Linked DNA regions of Homo sapiens: all the other regions are linked to region 3. The links are contacts of gene promoters, found by promoter capture Hi-C in human tissues and cell types (Jung and others, 2019). All regions are on one chromosome and are shown on one strand. The core of a region is centred on a gene start or on the middle of the fragment in contact, and the rest is flanking DNA. Distances in the headings are between cores, read along the strand shown. Region 1 overlaps GRIK4 (glutamate ionotropic receptor kainate type subunit 4). Region 2 overlaps GRIK4 (glutamate ionotropic receptor kainate type subunit 4). Region 3 holds the start of TECTA (tectorin alpha).

Region 1 (3,922 bases), core at 422-2,921, 420 kb before region 3:
GGGCCATTATTCTTTCTACAACAACTGTTCTTGTAATGTGGGAGGCTAAGCCGCTGGAAAACCTTCTCATGAGCAGTTCCATGTGCAGGGACTGCACACTTGGAAACTGTCCATAGCTCGATCCTTGGCCCAAGTTGCCTTACTCCTGTGATCATCAACCATTTTGCATAAGAACCAGGCATCCCAGAGCACCGAAGCTGATGTGTTTTTTTCAATGGACAGAGGGAACTGGACATGTTGGCTCTTCCATTACTGCAACTGAGATTATGCCACCAGGGAAGAGACAGCTGGGAAGGGGCTGTGTAACAGGAAGTATTTTATCACGTTGATTTAGTAATCTCGCCACTCCTAACATGTCAGGGCACTAAAGGAGTAGCCTGAGAGCTGAGTGTGATCTGAGCCTGTGTTGTGTGGGCTCCGCTGGGCTCCGCTCAGAATGATGTGTTTATTTCCTGCCATGGGGTCTAGAGAGAATAACATCCCGCCACAGTCCCAGCAGACTCTGTCTTATTCTGCCTGCCATCCTTCCAGAAGGGCACAGATCTATGTGTGCTTTAAGAAGCAATGTGATGTAGGAGAGTACTGCTATGTGTGAAGAATGAGAACACTTAGGATCTGAAGCTGGTCCTGCCTGTTCCTCTGTTCTCTGGTACTTACTTAATACTGACAATGCCCTGTTTAGGGCTCAGCTCTATGGAAAATACAAAGAAATAGGATATTTTGTTGGTACATGTTCTAAATGTGGAAAGGCCAGACTCTCAGACATGAAGGAACTAGAGGGCGATACGAAATAAGGAAGTATTAAGTGCTGAGACATCAGCTCTGGAGTTAGGCAGTGGTGACTGTGGTGGTCCAGGGACCGTGGGGACATTGCCATTTTGCGCCTCCTTTTCCCTGTTTGATATTTCTTTTGTTGCTGCCTAGAGCAGAGTAAGAGAGAGGGCAGTGGACCATCCCTTTAAGATACTGTACATCACAGGAGAGGGGATGACATTCATGTTTATTGAGCATCTACTGTGCCCATCACTTCCATAAGTTATATGATTAATTTTTATAACAACCTCCAGAGGTAGGTTTGGTAATGTCTGCTATTTGGGTGTGGAAACTGAGGTGTGGAGGGACCAAGGTCACCCATGCAGAACATGGAAGATGCTGGATTTGAGCCAGACTCCCTGGCGCCAACCCCATGCTCTATCTATTACACTAGACTCCTCCCTGCTGTGCTCCCCTCTGCAGAGACCCCGAGGCCTCTGGGCAGTGCCTGTGGCTCTGGAGGTGCAAGAGAAGGTAGGTGTGATTGAGGTCTGCCCAAGACCCATGGGACAACCTCCGTTTCTTTAGGGCAGACCCCACACCTCATCCCCCTTCTTGTCCCCACCTCTGCTGGTTTCCTTTTCAGACACTTGAGAGAGAGGAACTAACTTAAAATGGAACCACAGGGTTAGTGCTAAAGGCACCGTTAGGTTAAAATTGAGAGCTGAGGCTGTGGTGCTCAGAAGGGCCAAGTCTGCATGCTGGCTTTATTTATAGTCGCTTATTTATTAGATTCCAAATGATGTTTAACCAGGAATCATATGGCAGTGATCTTTGATTACTTATGCGGCTAATAGCTGAACATTTATTATTATTGCTATTTATTCAGCCAGCTAAGTGTACCGGGTGCTTCTCTTTCAGGAAAGCACCAAGGGAAGGGGCCAAAATAGAGGAGTGGCTTGGCTGGTGGTCCTATAGACCAGGCGAGGGGCTCCACTAGAAGGGTTTTTTTTTTTTTGTTTTAGTTTTTGTTTTTGAGACGGAGTCTTGCTCCGTCATCCAGGCTGGAGTAAAGTGGCACGATCTTGGCTCACTACAACCTCCACCCACCGGGTTCAAGCAATTCTCCTGCCCCAGCCTCCCATGTAGCTGGGATTACAGGTACGTGCCACCACACCTGGTTAATTTTTTGTATTTTTAATAGAGACAGGGTTTCACCATCTTGGCCAGGCTGGTCTCGAACTCCCGACCTTGTGATCCACATGCCTCGGCCTCCCAAAGTGCTGGGATTACAGGTATGAGCCACCACGCCTGGCCTGGTTTTTTTTTTTTGTTTGTTTGTTTTTGTTTTTGTTTTTAAAGAGCCAATCCTTAAAATAGAGGGAATAGGGGTGGGAGTGCAGAGAACACCCTAAAGGGAGAGAAGAGTTTGAGATAAGAGTTGGGACTTCTGGAGCTAGAAATATCTAGCTTTATAATAACAGCAGCATTTATTCAGTATTTATTATGTGCCAGGCAGTATGGTAAATGCTCTTCAAAATGATTAATCCTACCACCACCTCCATTTCACAGATGAAAAACCAGAGGCTCAGAGAAATTCATAACTTAGCTGGTGTTCAAATCCAAGCCCTGTCTGCCTCTGGAGAGACCACATGTCCCTTATACTGCCCTGCCCTCCGTCAGAGTCAGTGCCCTTCTTCTCTTTTGGTTAAGCTTAACTTTTTGAGTAAACAGCCCAGGAAAAGAATGGAAAACCTAGTGCCCCCGGAGCCCAGGAAAGAGTATGGAGAATGCAGCTCTTGGCTTCTCTGTTCTTTTCCCCAGTGTTTTGCAGCCCACTGGGAAGGAGCTGCCAGTGGTCCCTGGAGCATGGCCCATGCAGGGCCATCTAATACAGTCCTGGGACAGGCCACTGCATGGCAGGCAGGGTGTCTGCCTAGAGTTGTGATGGTGCAGGGAGCAGCTGGGCAGTGCCAGGCCCAGAGGCACCAAGATGGGAACCTGTAGTGTCTCCACCCTCTGGACACATGAAGAGAGCAGGGACCCTCCTGGCAGGGAGGACTTGTCTAACTGAACCTCCCCTGCCCACCTCAGACATGCTAACCTTTGGGCTCTCTCATGCCTCCCATCCTCACTCTTTCTCAGTTCTGTCTTTGCAGGAGGAAGCTCAAACTCCTTTTCAGGGCATGGGAAGCCTTCACAGGCAGGCTGCAGATGATCCAGGTGGCTTCATCTTTCAACATCGTTCCCATCCCTATCCCTACCGTAAACACTCAATACCCATGAATTCTGTACTGCAGACGCTGGAGTCCCTAGAACATCCTTGCCTCTCACATCGCTGGGCCTTTGCTGTCTCCACTGCCTAGAATACTCTTCTTCTCACCTTGCCTGCCCAGCAGAATTTTATTCACCATTCAAGGCCTTGCTTATATATGACCTCCTCCTCTGAAGGCCCTTCTCTGATGGCCCTTTCTTTTCTTGAGATAGAGTCTCACTCTGTCACCCAGGCTGGAGTGCAGTGGCGTGATCTTAGCTCATTGCAACTGCCACCTCCCAGGCTCAAGTGATTCTCCTGCCTCAGCCTCCCAAGTAGCTGGGACTACAGGTGCGCTCCAGCATGCCTGGCTAATTTTTATATTTTTAGTAGAGATGGGGTTTTGCCATGTTGGCCAGGCTGGTCTCAAGCTCCTGATCTCAGGTGATCAACCTGCCCCGGCCTCCCTAAGTGCTCCCTAAGTATTACAGACGTGAGCCACTGTGCCTGGCCCGATGGCCTTTTCTATCTCCTCTGAGAGTGGATCTTGCCCTCTCTGGGGCTCCAGTGCCACCATATGGGTGACTGCACCTCAGCCTCACCCCACATGGCGTGGTGACATGAGTTTCAGCATCAGTCTCTCAAGGCAAAGACTATGTCTCATTACCTCTGACTCCCTCGGCCTTGCTCCATAGTAGGTGTTCAGTAAACATTAGTCAAGTGAATGTAGGAATGACTCATTCTTATCCTGGGCTGCTGTGGAAAAGGTGTTTGTTTCAATTGGGGCCACATACTCACTGGCTTGAAAATGGGGACATCAGGGCAGGAAACAGGGACTAACTGAGCTAAGTTATGCAACCTGAAATAGGACAGCAAAGCACCTGGAACATGCTGGATAGAGGCGAAGGGAGCTGG
Region 2 (3,697 bases), core at 794-3,293, 470 kb before region 3:
GCTCCAGAGACCCCCAGCCTTGGAGCTTGGTGGGGTGGGGATGAGAACACCAACTTGGAGTCAGGTGATCCCAGGTTTGAAGTCCAGCATGATCATATACTGTTGAGCAGTCAGGGGCAAGCTCCTTACCCCTTCCAAGCTTCCTCATCTGGAAATGAATGGCAGTACCCACTGCTGTGGACTGAATGTTTGTGTCCCCTTGAAATTCGTGTGTTGAATCCTAGCCCCCAGTGTGATGGTATTAAGAAGTGAGCCTTTGGGAGGTCATAGGCGTGGAGGCCTCATGAATGGGATGTGTGCCCTTGTATAAGAGACCCCAGAGAGCTTGCTCTCTCTTTCCACCATGTGAAGATACAAGAAGCTGGCCATCTGCAACCTGGAAGACAGCCTTCACCAGAACCTGACCATGTCGCACCTTGATCTCAGACCTCTAGCCTTCAGAACGGTGAGAAATAAATTTCTATGGTTTATAAACCACCTCAAACTACGACATCCACCTCATAGATTTATAAGGCTGAATTGAGATAATGAGTAAAGAACGTAGCTCAGGGTGGGGTTCTGCTTCCATGCTCCGTGTCCCCTTCTCCTCCTCTCTTTCTTCTCCTTGTCCTGTATTGTCAGGCTGGACCCTGCTCACTTAGAACCCGAGGGTCTCACTGTGCTTCCCGTTTCCAGGTTAGCTCCAGGTATGAGATATAGAAGTCTAACACTTGTCCCCGTTTGTCCCAGCCACCTTCTTCCTGCTCTTGCAGCTCCATTTATCTTGCTGAAAACTTGGCTCTTCCAGGAATAGCACTCAACTCACACCACCCAGCATGTCCTGGGAATGGGTAGAAGAGCACCCCCAGAACTGAGGGTTCCTGATTCTGAGGATCTCCTGCAACCCCTTGCACTACCACCAGCATCCCCCAGAGGCTTCTGTGTGCTCAGAGTTGATAAGCCCTTCTCCACCACTGGGGAGACTGGAGTGTGCTTCTCTGCTGTAGAGGAACACCCAGCTTGGGGCCATTGACACTATGACCTTGTTACTAGCTCACGTCTTAACCCACCTTGGAGTTCACAGGTCGTTTCCTTTGGCCCTCACAAATAAGCCATGAGATGGGCTGGTTCTATCATCAGCCATTTAACAGATGAGGAAACTTAGAAGGCACATGGTTCACCCAGGCACACAAACAGATGATGGCACCTTGGTCATCTGATCCTAAGTTCAGTGCCCTTTGCCTTGGGTGGCAGCTGCCCACAGAGCCACCAGCGCCATGCAGAAGAGTAGAGTCAACCAAGAACATTATATGTTCAGTGACAGTGAGTTCAGAGTCTTCTTGGCCTGGAGCTTCGTTTAAGATGAAGTGCCAATGGCAAGGTAATTATCATTTTGGGCATATTTAAAGTACTTAAATGGCCATGTCAGGCTTTCAGAGCCCTGTAAATCAGAGACACAGTGAGTGCAGGGCCAGGCCTCATAGGACTCCCAGGCCTTCTCGATGGGGAGCGGAGAGAGCCATTTCCTGGGATAAAGAGGACTCTCTGCAGACGCTGGCCCCTCTTAATCGCTGCCCATGCCTTGTTCTGTGCACGTGAGCACATGTGTGTGCTCGCATGCACCTGCTTTGAAAGCCTTTGACTTAGACATTGTCAGGACGTTGCTCTGTGTCTGAAGCTAGGCTGCCATATCTGCTATTGATGGTGTTTAATTAGGGACCGGGGAAGCTTTTAACTTTTATTGTTTATTAATAAAGATAAATTTGAAGCATCAAAAGTGTACTGAGTTGGCTTTTTTAAGTAAAGAGGGAAATGAAAGCCACAGGTCCCCTCAAATGAAAGGGGATGGGCTGTGTTAGCATTAGAAGGCCCCTGAGCAGGGAGAGGCTGGGAGGGGAAGGGAGAGTTTCTCTGTCTCCCTGCTGCTACTGTGGGGGTTTGCTGGGGAGAACCAAGCATAGGCAGAAGGGAAGTGTGGCTGGGCATGGAGATTTTTTGAGATAAGGGCCCTGCTTGCGGCACATCTCCCAGTGGGATGTGTGAAAGACGATTGCAAACCTCTGAGCTGATGCAAACTGAAGATCTGTGAGCACGGGGGTGGGAGAAGGGCTCTTGGGGAGAGAGAGCACAGCGATTAGTAGGACAGAACTTGGAGGTGGCCAAACGTAGGTTCAAATCCTGTTGTTTCCGCTTATGAGCAGTGTAACGTTAGAGCAGCGGCTGCACCTTTCTGAACCTCATTTCTAAAATGGGGCTCTTTAGACCTGCCTTCCAGTGTGTGTGCAGATTAAGCACGATAATATATGTAAAGTGCTTGGCGTCCTGCCTGACAAGTTGTAAGCCGCCGAATAAATGGCAAGAGGGGGCCTCTGGTGCCCTGTGTTTCCTGACGCACTCTCTCTGTCACTCTAGCCTTGTTAGAGTGTTAGTTGTTGAACATGACAGCTAACGTGTGCTGAGACCCTACTCAGTGCCAGGGCTATGCCTGAAGTTCTGCAGCAAACAGGAGGCGGAGCTGGCATTCAAACCCAGCTTTCCCCATTCCAAAGCTTCTCCCACACCACCCCGCCACCATCCCGTGGTGCCATTTCCCAGGTTGAAAGTTCTCTGCTTGTAACACAGAGTTCCCTCCTCCCCCAAGGGTTCTGCAGCTTCTGCCAGGGCCTCGCCTTGGCCTTTCTGGAAGGAGCCCTCCCAGACACCAAAGACTCTCCCAGCCTGCCGGCCTGCCTACCCCAGACTCTTCAGAGAGACTCTGTTCCTCTAGGGACCCACTCGGAATTGAGTCTGTCAGATGGGAGACTTGTTGCTCTGTCTGGAAACCCCAGTGATCTGGAGACAGCAGATTTGGGAGCTGAAAAGAGACAGAGAACGGAGTCCGGAGACAGTGGGAGGTTCCTTGTGGGAGTTCTCAAGAGACCCTCGTGGGCAGGAGGGGGCGATTCACCTTGCCAGGGCTTCCCTTCCTCCTCTCTGCCAATCTTCGTGCCCAGCTCACGGAGTCGCCAAGCATGTGACCTGCCTGCTACTTGACTTGAGCAGGTGGCCAGACTGAGCATCCGCCATCTCTAGGGAAAGCGAGATGCGAACGTCCCCCTTGCACCTCAGTTGAGCTTCGCCTTGGCAGCTGGGGAGCAAAGCCTGGGAGAAGACAGACCAGGGAGGCCAGAGGACCTTGAGCAGCTATGGGGCTTGTTTCTTGCCTTCTTTCCGTTTTCCAGACAGAGGAGATAGGAGGGCAGCTGAGTGTGGCCCAGGATTCCCAGCTGAAACTTCATATTACGGTCCCTGCAAAGGGTCGGGTTCCTTCTCTGCCTGCCATGAACTCTTGTCAGAGATCATCTTGGGTTAGGAACCAAGCACATCCCACCCCAACCCCTTCCCCACTCAGAAGGGGACAGATGTTTGAATAATTCTTGGAAACATGCTGCAACCACCCAAGGTGCACTGAGTCAGCTATGCAAATTGAGAGGCGTAGGTCAGAGTCCTGTGTGTATTTTGAAGTTGCAAATTCCCTGGCAAGCCTTGCACTGCACCCTGAGTCCTGCGTGCCGCAGTCACCCAGGGCCTTCCTGACATTCAGGGAGCTCAGGGGTGTTGGAGAGTGCCCCCAGCCCCACCCCATAGCTCTCCTTGCTCCTGCTCCGGATGCCTGGTGATAGTTACTATTTTGAGTTAAAGCGATTCTGCTTTATTAAAAAGGAAGTCCCCCAGGGAG
Region 3 (3,638 bases), core at 528-3,027:
CTAGCTCCAACCCACCCCCACCGTACCCCACATCTAAATCTTGTCAAAATCTTTGCTCACCTCACACTTTCAACGAAATAAGTCCTCCTGCTGACACAGCATGAAAAGACATTTTTGTCATTTGTCAATCTGTGACCACTGGGTGTACACCAGAACACACACTCACTGACCAGCTTCCCAAAGTGATAAGCCAGCCTGGTGTCTCCCCACGCACCTGGTGTTCCCTTGCAGCCGGATTCTCAAAGGCATTCTAATTCATGTATGCCACCATCTTGTGTATCTGGTTATGCCCAGATGGCATTTATCCGGGCAGCAGTCCTGTCTCAAGAAGGATGGAGCATCCAACATGGGTCAAAAGGGCTGTGATATAAATATCCTAGAATGCATGAAAAAGGAAGAAAGCAATTAGTATGCCACCAGCAGTTAATTAAAACACAGCCAGCGATTTTGCTTCAAGACATTTAGGTTGGCTACTGGACTAAAACCTAAGGCTGGACAAAGAGAATCCTTCTGTAATGAGTCTTTGATTTGAACTTAATTTTATTTTAAATAGGCACCCAAGAAACTAGCTTTTCTGTTATATAAATATACGCCATTCTAAGCACTCCTAGAATCCAAAGAAAAACAAATAAATGTGAGTCATTTGGAAAGAAGCAGTCATTTAACATCTGTAAGTAAATATGTGTGGAGGATTCATAATACCAGTGAGAGAATAAACAATGTGGGAAACCTACTGAATTATCACAGGTTTTTGGAAAAACACGGAGTAATTTAAACTAAAAAAATTTAGCTCGCCAAGCACTCTTGTCCATTTTAAGACAACATGCTTAAACCCAGAATTATATTTCTTTTGTACAGTTGGCATTTAAATGTCTGGTCAGAGAAAATTTGCAGTAATTTTTAAATTCCCATTGATGTGCAGAAGAGTTTTTTTTTCCTGCTACAGTCAAGTTACTTCTTTCTTAATAAATTCCATTTAAACATTTTGAATAGTAGATTTAGCTTATGCCTTAGCCAGTTTTGCTCATTCCACATCTACTGGATGCTTGGAAGCATCTAACCGAGCACGTTTTCCTCTTATTCACATGCCTTTTAAACTATTTACTTACTGCAAATTTTTTATCAGAAGGGGTTTATCTCCCCCCTCTGCCTCCAGTGACCCTCACTGGGTGTTAGGGAAGGTTTCCAGGCCACAGTTTGAGATTTCCCTTGTGGAAGATCGTGTCTAGCGCTAGGTCCCTTGTTAGATTTTGCCTGGAAAGTGCCCTGTCCTATCTCCTGCAGAGCGGTGCATCAGAGAGAAAAGAGAGGGCATAAAACCTAAAAAGTTTGGAAATTTTCTTTAAATACTTCATGCATACCTGTGAAAAAATAGAGTAGAGCCTATCTGTGGCGACTGTTGAAAACCAGAGAAACAAAAAAAGACTTTAATAGAAAACCAACTTCATTTAAATGTTGGAGGCAGCTGCTTTGTTTGGAGTTTTAATCCCATGCTGGTGGATGCTAATTCTGTAACATTATACAGTTGCCTTCTTTTGGGTACAAAGGTAGAAGGGGGGTTTTCTTTTGTGTTTTTCAGTGCAAAGTGATTCTGATCAGAAAGGCCCAAGGTTTCAGCTCCAAGTACCTGACATTTCCATCTGAATCTACTTTTTTTTTCAAAGGGGAAAAAAAAAGGTCTAGTTTTTCAGGAAAAGAACCTCTCTACGCAATCCTGAAACTGATCTTTAGATTTACTTTTCCTTAATCAATAGAAAAAAACTTGATTGCAGCTCAACACTTACCTGTCTCTAGTGCAGGACTAACTTAATTTTTGGTTTTAAGAGTACGAGATTCAGACATTATTTCAGGAATCAGAAATTATTGGCAACAAGTTGAGGAGAACTGACATGAATTCTTGTTTTACCTAATTTTTTCTGGCTTACCAAGATTTGGCTTAATATTTCTGACTCAGTTCCTCCAGCCTCTACAGAACAGGTTAGTGACATTTTTCATAAATACAAATATCTAAATGAATCCTCCTTACTTCTCTCTGAACCGGTTCCCTAAGGGCTCTAGTCTTAAACTTGCACGGCATCTTCTCCATTAAAGCTGTGTGTGATCTCTGCTAAACCTTTGTACCCTTTCCAGCAAAACTGTCTAATATTTAATATGTGCTTGAAATTACAACATATATACTTGACAACTAAAGATTTGCAATAAAACTCTCACAGGATAAATTCATTGCCTTTCCCGTGAAAGTTTGGCTGAAGAATTGTGATAACTTCAAATGATAAGAGGAAGGTTTTTCTTTTTTAAGAATACTGTCAGGAGGAGACTTCATGGTCTAGCCACACGCTTGGGTGATGTCTAACTTGAGCTTGCGTCCGTGTTCTCATCGCAGCTTTGCAGAGTGACACAGACAAAACATGCTCCTGATGGAGGGTAAAGCCACCATGCAACCGATTGTAAACTAACACGAAAACAAGTTTCTCTTTGCTGTGTTCCTTCTTTAATTAACTTGCTGGAACTAATTGGTTGCTTGTGCGCTGGATTCTATTTTTATTGTGATTCCAACTCTGGATTGGTCCTTTTTTATTACTAATGTTTCTATCATTCATTTCACTGTGGGAAGTCAGTGAACAGAGTAGACTGGCCCTGAATCTGGTCAATACTTCAAAATGATGGATCGGCTCCATTCTATGGAGAAGGTGATGGCAGACTCTAAATTCTCCTAGCTGTAGAACACATTGTGTTTTAACCAACTTTTGTTTGATTCTGATGGAAAGCTGTAGTGAAAATTAGGAAATCCAGGTCTCACTGGGGTGTGGTTTCTGCTGCAGAGACACAACCCGGGACCTGCATGCATCTTTAGCGTTGGGTCCTAGTTTTCAGCGCTTTATTTGATGCAGAGGGGATACCTTTCCTTTACGCATACCACTCTCACTGATCCTAAATAATTACTTGACAGTTTGAATGATCTCATTACACTTCCAGACTGGCTTCTTCTGGGCATCTAATTTGTTCATGAAGTGTTGAACTTCGGAGGACCTGCCAGCATTCAGGGGATTTCAGCCCGACTCAGCACTGTTGATGTTGTTATGTGAATTTGTTCTATGACGGTTTTGATGGTCTTGGGATTAGCCACTAAACACACCTGGTGTTCTGTTTACTCTGGCAAGCTGGGGATTTTTTTTTCATTTTCTTTTTAAAATTCCAGGATGAATTATTCATCATTCCTTAGAATTTGGGTCTCTTTCATCTTCGCACTTGTACAGCACCAAGGTGAGTACTACAGAATTCCATAAAGCTCTCAGTTAGCATGCTCTTGAATTGATAAAGAGACACTTTTATTGGAACCACAATTGTAAGGGCAGGTGCATGTGTGTCTACAGATACAAGAGAAAAATGTAATTAAATTCTATTATCAAGGGTAAAATTCATTAACTTTAAATGAGGTTTACTTATATTCCCACTTTTTTCTTATTTAACTTCAAATACTATTTGTATGTACCAGCTTGCCCTGTGCTAGTGGAGTAGATCTTTAAAATTACGCAAAATTATTTCCATTAAAAGTAGATAAGATAGGGGTATGTGCACTTCATGTCTGATCACTGATTTCCATTAAGGCATTTAATTTGTGGTGGAGACTTTAAAGA

Evidence for each region. Contacts are between HindIII fragments. The study calls those that stand out against the background at their distance.
Region 1: a fragment that was not itself captured here is called in contact with the fragment with the promoter of TECTA in region 3 in 1 of the 25 tissues and cell types used here (H1 embryonic stem cells).
Region 2: a contact is called between a fragment that was not itself captured here and the fragment with the promoter of TECTA in region 3, in 1 of the 25 tissues and cell types used here (dorsolateral prefrontal cortex).

Annotation. Positions count from the first base shown.
Region 1 is chr11:120,676,863-120,680,784 of GRCh38, forward strand. The region is part of intron 3 of GRIK4 (glutamate ionotropic receptor kainate type subunit 4); the gene reads left to right. Among named protein-coding and RNA genes, the nearest start is that of GRIK4, 170 kb to the left of the region's middle. The HindIII fragment of the contact is 4,409 bases long and covers 1-3,876 here.
Region 2 is chr11:120,631,862-120,635,558 of GRCh38, forward strand. All of the region lies in intron 1 of GRIK4 (glutamate ionotropic receptor kainate type subunit 4), which reads left to right. Among named protein-coding and RNA genes, the nearest start is that of GRIK4, 120 kb to the left of the region's middle. RefSeq lists an enhancer at 2,077-3,056. The HindIII fragment of the contact is 5,851 bases long and covers 1-3,697 here.
Region 3 is chr11:121,099,466-121,103,103 of GRCh38, forward strand. It overlaps TECTA (tectorin alpha), which reads left to right and starts at 1,778. Exons shown (of 24, transcript NM_005422.4): 1 at 1,778-1,977; 2 at 3,200-3,264. The coding sequence starts at 3,201. It overlaps TBCEL-TECTA (TBCEL-TECTA readthrough), which reads left to right. Exons shown (of 30, transcript NM_001378761.1): 8 at 3,200-3,264. The HindIII fragment of the contact is 17,013 bases long and covers 1-3,638 here.